2 separate regions of the Homo sapiens genome follow, and region 2 is linked to region 1. The links are contacts of gene promoters, found by promoter capture Hi-C in blood cells and fetal thymus (Javierre and others, 2016). All regions are on one chromosome and are shown on one strand. The core of a region is centred on a gene start or on the middle of the fragment in contact, and the rest is flanking DNA. Distances in the headings are between cores, read along the strand shown.

Evidence for each region. Contacts are between HindIII fragments. The CHiCAGO score rates a contact against its expected background, and 5 or more counts as called.
Region 2: a contact is called between a fragment that was not itself captured here and the fragment with the promoter of MALT1 in region 1, in 1 of 17 cell types (total B cells). The highest score is 6.2, in total B cells.

What each region holds. Positions count from the first base shown.
Region 1 is chr18:58,668,882-58,674,711 of GRCh38, reverse strand. It overlaps MALT1 (MALT1 paracaspase), which reads right to left and starts at 3,247. Exons shown (of 17, transcript NM_006785.4): 1 at 2,860-3,247. The coding sequence starts at 3,068. It overlaps MALT1-AS1 (MALT1 antisense RNA 1), which reads left to right and starts at 2,839. Exons shown (of 2, transcript NR_164150.1): 1 at 2,839-3,243; 2 at 3,904-4,703. It overlaps LOC105372146 (a long non-coding RNA gene), which reads left to right. Exons shown (of 4, transcript XR_935537.3): 4 at 1,853-2,099. It overlaps LINC03110 (long intergenic non-protein coding RNA 3110), which reads right to left. Exons shown (of 4, transcript NR_187442.1): 4 at 5,364-5,656. RefSeq lists a silencer at 2,719-3,508 and an enhancer at 3,669-3,928. The HindIII fragment of the contact is 13,202 bases long and covers 1-5,541 here.
Region 2 is chr18:59,065,095-59,070,924 of GRCh38, reverse strand. It overlaps the pseudogene OACYLP. Among named protein-coding and RNA genes, the nearest start is that of SEC11C, 72 kb to the left of the region's middle. The HindIII fragment of the contact is 8,599 bases long and covers 1-5,830 here.

The sequences.
Region 1 (5,830 bases), core at 1,998-4,497:
TACCTTTAGGACCTTCTAGTATCACAGATCTTCTCCCAACAGCATGAAATCACTTTACAATAACTTTTTTGTCTTAAATAGAGTAAGCATCCCCAGCTGACCTTGCTTCACTGTCCAGCCCCCAAGCTCCCAGTGCTGTTTTTTGAAAAAAAGTCCGTTTAATTCTTCTGATCTCCATAGGGATGAGCTTAACGTTCCCAAATTCTCCAACCCTTCTCACCCCAGCCAACCTCCTCAAAACTAATCTTTACCATCTTGAAAGACAGGTGAAACTCATCTGCCTCTCATCAGACTTCCCACCCCAAATTCTCAGATTCCACAACTGCATGCCCTTTGTGCTTGCCACCTCTTGTTAGGCAACTGTCCCCTTCTCTCTGTGTGACTCCACAGAAAAGTGGCCTCAAATATTTCCTTTAGTTCCCCCAAACAAAGCTAAGACCATTTTGTAGCCTTTAACAAAAACTGACTGAAGGCAGGCGAGGAAAACACAACACCCAACATCAAGTATCCGCTGCTTTTGGATTCCAGCAGCCACGCTTCTTCCCTGGCAGGGCCTTGCTGACTTTCTTCTCTCTCCTTCATGGCCATGTAGGAGTCCTCCATACCTGGCTTTCTTCAGGAAGCCCAGAACCTTCCCTAACCAGAGTACTCGTTAGCACCGTAATACTCTGGAGATCTGCCCCCAAAGACAATTTTTTACATTATGGTAAGTCCAGAAATTCAAAATTTTATGTACCTAGCATAACAATATTTTGTATTTGTTTTTTTTGCATATCCAAAAGCCCAACGTGTTTTTCCTAGAACAGAAAAAAATTATGCCACTTCTCTGCTAGGCCTTGCTAGTTATTCCCTCCTCACATCATTACTCCTTTGCACAAGCAATAATCCCAAGTCACTATTATCCTTTGCCTCAATCCCAAACTCTGAAACAAGAGTTGTCAGGAGGGTTTAAGAAAATAATGTGGCCAGGCAGGGTAGCTCATGCCTGTAATCCCAGTACTTTGGAAGACTGAGGCGGCTGGATCACCTTAGGTCAAGACCAGCCTGGCTAACACAGCAAAACCCCGTCTTTACTAAAAATACAAAAAAATTAGCGGGCTGTAGTGGCGCACGCCTGTAATCCCAGCTACTCAGGAGGCTGAGGCAGGAGAATTGCTTGAACCTGGGAGGCGGAGGTTGTAGTGAGCCACGATCACACCACTGCACTCCAGCCTGGGCGAAAGAGCAAGACTCCATCTCGGAAAAAAAAAAGATAATGCAAAAATAAGAAGAATAAAGAAGAATGAAGCAGCAGCAGCAGCATGTAAACATTTAGTATATTTTGTGGTACATACCATGTCCTCAATAAAAGATAAAAATCCATTATCATTCATACCCAACACAGCATTTAATATGTTATTGTAAAGGTCCCCAAATAATAGTCCATTCCTGGATAAACCCTTATGATTAGGAATTGAATATTTGTTAGTTTTTTATCTTCTAAAATTTCTAGCAAATAATAAGCACTTAATAAATACCATTTTGAATGAATGACTTTCCTCTCATCAAGTATTTACTAACCTCTATACATAACAGAATATTAAGAGACAGTTTTTGTTCTTAAGGCATTTATAAAGATGTGTACAAATAATTATACTGTAAGACAAATCTTTGTCATTTGAGAAGTTCAAAAAACTGCTAAGGGGTTCAAAGGCAGGCCAAAGTTACAACAATGGTATAAAGTAATGGTTCTAAGTGGGGTCTGGGAACCCCTAGTGCAGTTCCTGAGACCCTTTCGCGGGGTCCACAAGGTCATAAAGATTTTTCATAACAATATTAAGACTTTATTTAGCTTTTTCATTCATTCTTTCAGGAGTGGACACTGCAGTTTCCAGCGTTCTGTGACCTGTAATAGTGCGACAGACTGAATGCAGAAGCACATAAACGAATCCAGCTCTGTGATTAAGCCAAGACATTAAAGAGATCTTCAAAATGAAAACCAATGCCACTTCTCTAATAGACTTTTTTGTTTTGGAAAATTTGTTTTTCCACGAAAGTATTATTTCTGTTACCATATAATGGGTTATTCTTTTTAAATAAATTAATATTTTTTAAATGTCTTAGCTTTAATTTCAAAGGTGGTAAATATCAGTATGTATTACATGTATGTATTATCTCTAACCCACATAAGAGCTCTCTGGGGTCCTCAATAATTCTTAAGAGGGTAAAGGAGTCTCGAGACCAAAACTTCAGGAACCCTAATACAGCCATTCCAAACCTAACAAGGAAAATAGTTTTACTTCGAGTTTCATGTTCATGGTGAAGTCAAGAAGAGAACGTGGTAACCTGGTTTGATGGAGGGAGATGATGAGTTCGGCGTCAGTCTTTCCCAATACCTTGCAAAATGTTCATGAATTCCTGCACCCCACCCTCTGCATTCATCACCTCGCCTGCGCTTCTTCCCAGCCTTCCTTAGGTCTCCCAGAGCAGTGTCCACATCCCTTTCTTTTGCATTTTAAGTCCTCTGGATGACTGCCCCATCCTAGGGGTCCCCTGACAGCTTTCCTTCTCTCACTATCCTCCGGGGTCAACCTCGACTTCTCCCTTTCACCAGGGGCGGGGGTGGGAACAGGGAGCGAGGCAGCCGCTGGGCCACTTTTGCCTCCACCCTCCAGAGCCCTGGGCCCCGCTCTCAAACCCCAGGCGTTCCGGGGAGCTGCTGAGTTCCGCTCCGCCTCAATGACCGAAGTCCTCCCCACCTCCGCTCACTCACGCCGGCGGCCCCCGCCGCGCTCAGCCCCACCGACAGCGCCCCCACCTCCCCACCGCAGCCCACCCCGCTCGACCCGCGCGCCCGGCCTGCCGCGGCCCTGAGCTCACCTGAGGCGGAGGCGCCCGCGACTCCCCGCCAGCTCCGCCAGTCTCCTCCAGCCCCGGCCCTCGGGCGCCTGATCCAGGAGCTCGCTGAGCCTCCGCAGCAGCGGCTCCCGCAGGCGGTTGAGGGTCGCGCCGGCCGGAGGGGCGAGCAGCGGCCCCGTGGGGGCGGCCGAGGGCGGCAGGGCCTGTAGCGGGTCCCCCAACAGCGACATGGCCCTCGCCGGCGACCCCGGACTGCCGGGGCTCCCGCCCGCCCCGTCACGGGCCTCGGCCCCGGGGCACCTTCCGCTCGCCTCCGAGCCGCGGAGGCAGGGGCGGAAGAACAAATCTGGCAGCGCGGCACGGCCCTCAGAGGAGGAAGCTCCGCTCCCCGCCCCAATTAGACAGGTTTGCCGAGGGGAGCCTGGCCTGCTGGCCGCGCCAGCCGCGCAAAGGGGCGGGGCACCCGGGGGGCGGGGCACGGAGCCTCGAGGGGCGGGACCTTGGGCCTCGAGGGGCGGGGCGGGGCTGCCTACTGCGTGCGTGCGGCTGCGCGCCTCCCTCGCCCTCCCCCGCGGTCCCGGGCTGGCCGTGGCGCGCGCTTCAAACCCAGCCCTCCCGAGCAGGAAAGGACGGGTGGGTGCAGCTGGAGGAGGAAGCGGTGGAGGAATTACGCCCCGGCAGCTCCTCTACGGCGGGGAAGCCTGCGGCGTCTGGGCTTCCTGAGACCGTGGGAGGAGGCCTGCGTACTCACGCCAGAGAGCGGGGCAAGCGGTTCTCAGTCGCCGGCTCCCGCCCGCAGTCCCCGGCGAGCGCTCTCCCCTGACTCAGGGACTTTCATGTGCCCGGCGACACACCAGCATCCTGCAGTGGGCAACCTCAGCGGACGCTTCCTCGTTTTAGGGTTAGATGTGTATGGCATTGCTAGAGGGAAGTAGTGCTGGAGATCCGGATACTTGAGTTGGAATTGGCCAAAATCTTTGCCTAGACTTTTAAACAATTACTACTTTGCAAACTGAGCTGTGGCATATTTAGGGCTAATCAGATCTTGGAAATGATTGTTTTTAGCAGGAATCATCTGGTTTACACCGCGTCAGACTGCCGCCCGCAATCTCCGTCATCAAAGCAGGCAACCCTGTAGAGGATGCCTTTCCCTGGAATGATCCGGAATGGACGACACCTGAGCTCTCTCTGCCAATCTTAGCAACATCCAAGGCCATTATCCCTTTGAAAACTATGGCTTCGTTTGGGACAAAAAGGAAGTAACTTACGAAATGTGACCAGTCAGGTAGTTCCCTACACGAGGCTTCCTGGCCCAATTTCTGTTGCCATTAGCTTTTCATCACCCAAGGCCGCAGGATTTTCTGACCAGTAATTTGGATACCTATATTCTTATACATGTTGGCGAGGTAGGTGCGCCATACAGTCTCCACCACATTCTAGCACAAGCAGTCATTAAACTTCACTCTAGCATAAGTTAAGAATTCAGACTGCAGTGAGATGGCTAAGAGCATGAAAGATCTGCTCGATTCAAGTGTTAGGAGCTTGAATAAGTTTCTTAATTTCTCTGCCTCATCTATTAACACAGGACTGACAATACAGTTTATATAGAGTTGTTGCCAGAATTAAAGGAGTTGATGTATGTGAAGCACTTAACTCGGTAACTGGCACATCGTAGATGACTCAGTAAATGCTATTACCCTTACACATACAAGTGCCGTTTCATACTCAGTTTGACTTGGCAAGCCTTTCCCAACCGCTTCAGGTGCCTTCCTGTTTTGTCCTCAATTACTGTACAAATATTTTCTGAGGATCTGTTACCTGCATGTGCCAATTATGGAAATAAAATCTTCTAGTCTTTACTGGAATCCTGCCTTTTAATTTAAATTCAACAGAGGTCTTCTAAATTTAGACTTCTTAGAAAAGTCTGCCATGTACAAAGCGTTGCTTATGCAACCTCTCGTGTGCATACGAGTTAAATGGGTGCCAGTGTTATTTACTCTTAGCCAATATAGCTCAGCTGGGCACTGTTTTGACCTCGAGTTGTACGCCCCCACCCTGGCTTCCCAAGTGACTGCCTCCCTCGTTTTACCCTACTCCCAACCTTTTTTTCCACCTAGCAATTTTATACCCTATCCAGTCACTACCCGCCACCCTCCATCCTCTACCCAAACTGACATTACCTTTTTTGACTGGTCTTTTTCTCTCCTCAATCAAATGTTAATATTTCTATGACATAATTTCACTCCTGTGGTTCTCTTATGGGCATAATGGTATAGTAGAATGTGACCTTTAAAGTTAGTCCTGAATTGGAAACTTGATGTTGCTGCCACTTACTAGTCTAGTGGTGGAACTTAGGTGATCTACTTAACCTCTCTGAGCTTCAGTTTCCACACCTGTAAAAAGTGGAAAATAATAGTACCTAATAGTGTTATATAGCGTCAGGGAGAAGTATGTGCATTGTATATTAGTACTCTTAAAACTGCTACATCAATTTTGGGAACAATGTAAATAGTAATTCAGCTTTCTTTTCTATATTAACCGTTATGTTTATATAAAGATAGGAGAAAAATTGGGGGTAAAGATCTGGCTTTTAAATGTCCCTTAAAAGTTCATGCATGTCTATAGATAATAGCCTTGGGAGTTCTTCCTCATTAGTTCAAAGTGAAATAGATCTTTGTAAATCCAGACAATTGGCAGGAAGCTTGTGGTTTCAATATATGGAACTCCATTGATGTAATCTTCAAAGCACTCATAGGTCTGGAAACTGACTCATAGGATTTTTTTCCTTTATACAGTTTAACTATAGATGGTACTCCAACTAAAAAAAAAAAAAACGCCAGAATGATATATTATTTCACAGTTGGACAGGGTTTAAAAGACTCAGTGCAGGAGAAAACCTGCTGGTCCTTGGATCTGTATACAATGGAGGGAAAGGAAGCAGGAGTTATGTGGCTTAAATGGCATTCATGGCCGAGCGTGGTGGCTCACACCT
Region 2 (5,830 bases), core at 1,382-3,881, 400 kb before region 1:
GGATTTCTCTAACCCTGCCTTATGTTATATAAAATTACAACAGCAGGAGGGTTGGGTTTTTTCCCTTATAAAAAAGTCTTTCCAATGCTGTGTCAGTCATTAGCTAGTTACTTCCACGGGTCCCAGATTTCTGGCCTCATAACTGGAAGCATTTGGCAATTTGGCTGCAGAACGATGTTGGCATGTGAGTCATCTCCCACCGAAGTCCACCCATGTGGCAGTGTTACCCTGAAAATGCCACTGGTCCTCAACAGCTCCTTGGAGGCCTAACGAAGTGAGAGGGTTCAGGTGCCAAAGAAGCCACCAGGGGGCTCCCGAGGAACTCGATGAACTTCGGCGTTCACTGAAAAGCCAATTAGGCTGCCTTCTCACAGCGCGGCTGTTGAGCCTTGGCGCCCCACTCCCTCAGGTTGGCTTCTTCAGCAGAGGGACCAGACCTCAGGGAGATGAGGTCTCTCATCTCATCATCCTCAGGGAGATGATCCCCGTGGCTGGCTGGCAAGGCCAAGGTTAGCTGTCCGTGGCCATCAGAGTGTGTGAAACGTTCAGCCTTCCCCTCCCCACCCACATTGGTCATCTTTGCAAACGCACTGGACAGCAAAGAGCATCCTCAGATGTGGCGCATCCCACGCTAATAAGGACCTTGTAGCCTGCGGTTGTTAATACTTTAATGAGTAAGTACACAAAGAGCTTTATTATAAGCGATGGAATGGACTTAATTAATCCATAACTGTAGACAGTTAATGCATAATTATACACCTAGAAAAAACACACATCCGAGAGCCTGGATCCTAGCATCTCTGTTTGGCCTTGCGAGTCTCTCCTCATCTCTAGGTCTCATCGCTGCAAATTGAGGGGGTTGGGCTGGAAACCACTGGCTGAGGTCTCTTCCTTCTCTGTTAGTTTTTGTTGAGGCCCTATGTTGGTGCATAGGGATATCCATCTATCTAGGGCTGCTGTGACAAAGTACCAAAAACTGGGTGGCTTGAAACAACAGACATGAATTATCTCACAGTTCTGGAGGCCAGAAGTCCAAAATCGAGGTGTCCCACGGGGCCATGCTTTCTCGGGCAGCTCCAGGGCAGACTCTGTCCTTACCTCCCCCGGTTTCTGGGGTTTGCCTTGGTGTTCCTGGGTTTGCACATGACTGTCTTCTCCCTGGGTCTTCACATCGTCTTCCCTGTGTGTATGCCTGTCTCCGTGACCAAACTTCTGCTTATTATAAGGACACCAGTCATACTGGATTAGAATCTCCATCCCCAGTGACCTCGTTGGACTTCATTATCTCTATAAAGACCCTGGCTCCAAATAAGGCCACATTCTGAGGGAATGGGAGTTAGGACTTCAACAGAGCTTTTGGGGGAGGGGATACAATTCAGTCCAAAACAGGGACTATGGTGAAGAATAGGTGATATTTGAAAGGCCCTATAATGACAGACCCATGAAGTATGCATGCTAGCGGGTCATACCACTGAGGTTCTAGGATAAAGTTACAAGTCTGCAAAGACGCCATAATAACACATAAACAATTCTGTCGTGGGAAAGTGCATACTGCATGTTGTAATTTTACAGAGAAAAGTGAAGAGCATAACCCAAATGAGCTTCATAACCCAAATTACATTAAATGCACGACATTTAATCATTTCCTGTGATCATTGATACAGACAATCAAATGGAGTTTAAACCAAAAAGAAATCCAGTTTCTGTTGTTGTTGTTGTTGTTGTTTGCTAAAATGGTACAACAGAAGTTTATTATTGTGCTACTAAAAATTTAGAGAACTCTCTTACATCATAAGAACTAAGAACTCTTTCACATATTAAATGCAAAGAAAATGTATATATTAAACTTTCACAAAATGAGATTCACACCCCTTCTCGGGAATACAAGCATTCATCACCTAGATAAGGCCACCTCATCTTTGCTCGTCATTACCAACAAGGCCCATCCATTCTTTTGTGTTTTAACCAGAACATTCATGGCCCAGCAGGTGCTGCTTCAGTTCCTGACATGGTTTCTCAATGAACAGCGTCAGGGCCAGCCCAGTGACGAAGGTCAGCACACGGTGTCCAGAGAAAAGATAGAACTGGAGAGAAAGTGGGCAGGGTGAACACAGTTTTACTCTGGGATTCCTATTGTGTTCAGATCTAAAGTGTACCATCCTAGCTCTATGAAATGCATCTGTAGGACAATCAGTGCTACATATTAAAAATAAAATAAATAAAATAAAAGATATTATCCTGTGCTGAAGCCCTCCCTCTTTCTGCCACAAATAAAGCAAAGAACAATGAAGCTCTTAAAAAAAAAAAAGACTTCCACGAAAGCAAATAGGTTGCCTTGTTGCTCAAGAAGAGAACAAGCTATGATACCATAACCTACCGTAACAGAACTAGGAGCTGCGTGCTAACTCACCATGTTGGTGTCAGTGTGGTGAATAAGTGTTTCCTGAAGGCCATTGTAAAGGATGATCAGAATCGGATGCACCAAGTAGCGAGCATAACTGATGCTGGACAGGAAACTCCAGATGTCCCAAGAAAGCACACGGTTCACCAGACCTGGAGGGAACAAGCACTGATGCATGAAGCCACAGCCTGTCTCTGGGCCAGTGAAGATGCCCATCATCCCATCGATGCTCCCATTGCATTCTGTGCCTAAGTCTGTGAACTTTTCCTAAGAAAGTCTTTATGCGTTATCATTTTAAGACAATGTACCAAACCAAAAACCACCTTTCTGTTGCAAGAATTATGATAACACAAGAGAGATACATGGTTTCAGCCCCTGAGCATAAAACATTGCATGTATAAAACAAGGTAAAAATTCCTCATATTCACCTGGGTTCTGGATCAAGATGCAGCCACAGGGGGGCGTTGGGATAAGGCATTTAACATTGCCAGGCCTCAAACTCTTCTGTCAGTGAGAGGCTTGCATTTGTAGGTGCCTTTCAGGACAAATATTCTGTAACTTGGTATATATTCTAGAACTGTGTTGTCCCAGACAATAGCCCCTAGCCACTTGTGGCTATTTAACTTAATTAAAATTAAATGCAATGAAAACTTCCTTTCTGAATAGGACTTATTGCTATCTCTAGTGAGTTGCATAGTGATCTTTCAAAAGATATGTCCACCCAGAACCTCAGAATGTAACCTTATTTGGAATAAGGGTCTTTGCAGATGTCATTAAGAGAAAGAACTAGAGATGAGATCATCCTGGATTAGGGTGGACCCTAAACCCAATGACAAATGTCCTTATAAGAGACAGAAAAGGAGACACAAATGCAGAGGAGAGACACAAGGAAGAGAACCATGTGATGACGAAGACAGAGACTGGAGTGAAGAGTCCATGAGCCAAGGAATGCCAAGGCTTGCCAGCAGCTACCAGAGGCTAGGAGAGGGGATGGGACAGATTCTCCCTCAGAAAATCCAGATGGAACCAACCCTGCTGACACTTCGATTTTGAACAGCTAGCCTCCAGAACTGTGAGAGAAAAAAATTTCTGTTGTTTTAAGCCACAGATATAAAATATAACTTCTGTTTCTCCTTTGCACAAGCCTCATTAAAAGTGCTCAGTAGTGAATCACAATTTGCTCAGGATAAATCTTTGGAGCCTTCCCAGACTCCTTTCATTCCAGACTCCATAGAGTGCTTCCAAAAATATGTCTCAAATCAGACCATTGCTCCTCACCTCCATGGCTAACACCCTCGTGAATCTTCCATCACCTCCTGCGTGGGCCTCCATGGTAGCTTCCCAGTGGATCTGTTGGTCTCTGCTCTTGTTCTTGCCACCTTATAGTCCCCACACCACATCCAGAGTAATCTTTTAAAATCACATATCAGGGAGAAATGGGGAAGGGGGAGATATTGATCAAAGCGTACAAAGTTTCAGTTAAACCGATGGAGTAAGTTTTAGTGATCTATTGCACTGCATAGTGACCACAGTTAATAATAATGTACTGGATATTTTTCAATGGCTAAAAGAAAAGATTCTTAACATTCTTACCACAAAAAAGAGATAACTTGGTGAAGTGATGCCTATGTTAATTAACTTGATTTCATCTTTCTACTAGGTATACATATACCAAAACATCACATTGTACCCCATAAATACAGTTATTATTTGTCCATTTGAAAATAAATTTTACAAATCCACAAATCAAATCATGGGCTATGATCTGAGTGTTTACATTCCCCCAAAATTCATATGTTGAGATCCTAATCCCCAAGGTGTTAGTATCAAGAGGTGGAGTCTTTGGAGAGGCAATTAGTTCACGAGGGCTGGGCCTTCAGGAATGGTATCAGTGCTCTTATAAAAGCGACCCCAGAGAGACAGCCCTACCCTTCCGCCATGTGAGGACACATCTAGAAAGTTCCAGCTAAGAACCAGAAAGCAGGCCTTCACCAAACACTAAATCTGCTGGTGCCTTGATCTTAGACCTCCCAGCTCCAGAACTGTGAGATATAAATTTCTGTTGTTTTTAAGCCACCTCATTTATGGGGCTTTATTTTTGTTATAGTAGCTGAAATGGACTAAGACTTCATGTGATGTGGCATTTAAAATAAAATCCAAACTCTTCCCATGGCCTTGAAAGCTCTGCCTAACCTGGGTCCTACCCTCCTCTCTGAGTTCCCTTCCCACCTCTCTCTCCCCCTTGACCCTTGGTTCCTATCTCACTGGTCATTTTGCTCTTCCTCCAAGCCACTAAGCTCGTTCCAGTCTAGAGACCTCTGCCTTCACATTCCATCTGCCCAGAATGCTTTCATACCACATCTTTGCAAATGTACCCCTAGTCCAGTTAGTTACCCACTAATCCCTGCTTTATCTTTATTCACTATATTTAAACTTCCCCCGACCCTACTGTAATCTCTCGCAAGGGAAGGATTTTTCTTGTCTATTGCTGTATCCCCAGATTCTAGAACAGTACCTGGCATAGAATAAGCATTCAAGAAGTATTTTATGTAATTAAGTGAATAAACACAGATGGACTTACAGACAAAAGACGCTTTTCCCCCAAGTGAAGGCTATAAAAGGTAAACCACAGTTTCACTGTAGAACAAAACAAAGTAATTGTAGAAGAATGAAGTCAGCAAAGAATCCATGCTCACGCAGATAAGCCAAACACAAAAGAACGCGCCCTAAAGCAAACAATACTGTGTTCATATTATGAGCCACAGGTGATTCCAGCAACTGTTCATCATATCATATTAATGTTGCTAATGCAGATTTTATTGGTTTTATAGTTTTATGATTACTTCATAAATTTGTTTTGGCTTTCTGAATGCATGTGCTATAAACATAAAATTTTGTATCTAGGTTTATGTTTGTTCATGTTTAGGCAAAATTGGACCAAAAATAAGAGCAGATAGTCAGGGTAACTTGAATCTATGTTCCCAGGAAAAAAAAAGCATTGAAAAAATAAGAATAAAAATAAGTTGAGCCAACACCAAGAATCCAAAATAATTCTTATTTCTTTAGAATAGGCCCACATATACTTAAGTTTGAGGACGAAAGCTGTAGGTGACAGACCACCACTGAAGGGCTTTAACTGAAGGAGTAATGTGGTCAGATGACTCTGGCAGCTCAACAGAAGACAACTTTGAGCATAACAAGACCAGCATGGTCAACATTGCTACCAAGCAAAGATGGTTAAATATTCATTGAATCATCAAGATCCTTTCTAGTCCTGAAAGTCTCAACTAAACATTTCTTCTTATTCAAACTCTTATTTTTTTCTAAAGATCATCAGCTAGACACTTTTTTATTTTTCGAGACAGGGTGTCACTCTATTGCCCAGGCTAGAGTACAGTGGCCTGATCTCGGCTCACTGCAACCTCCGCT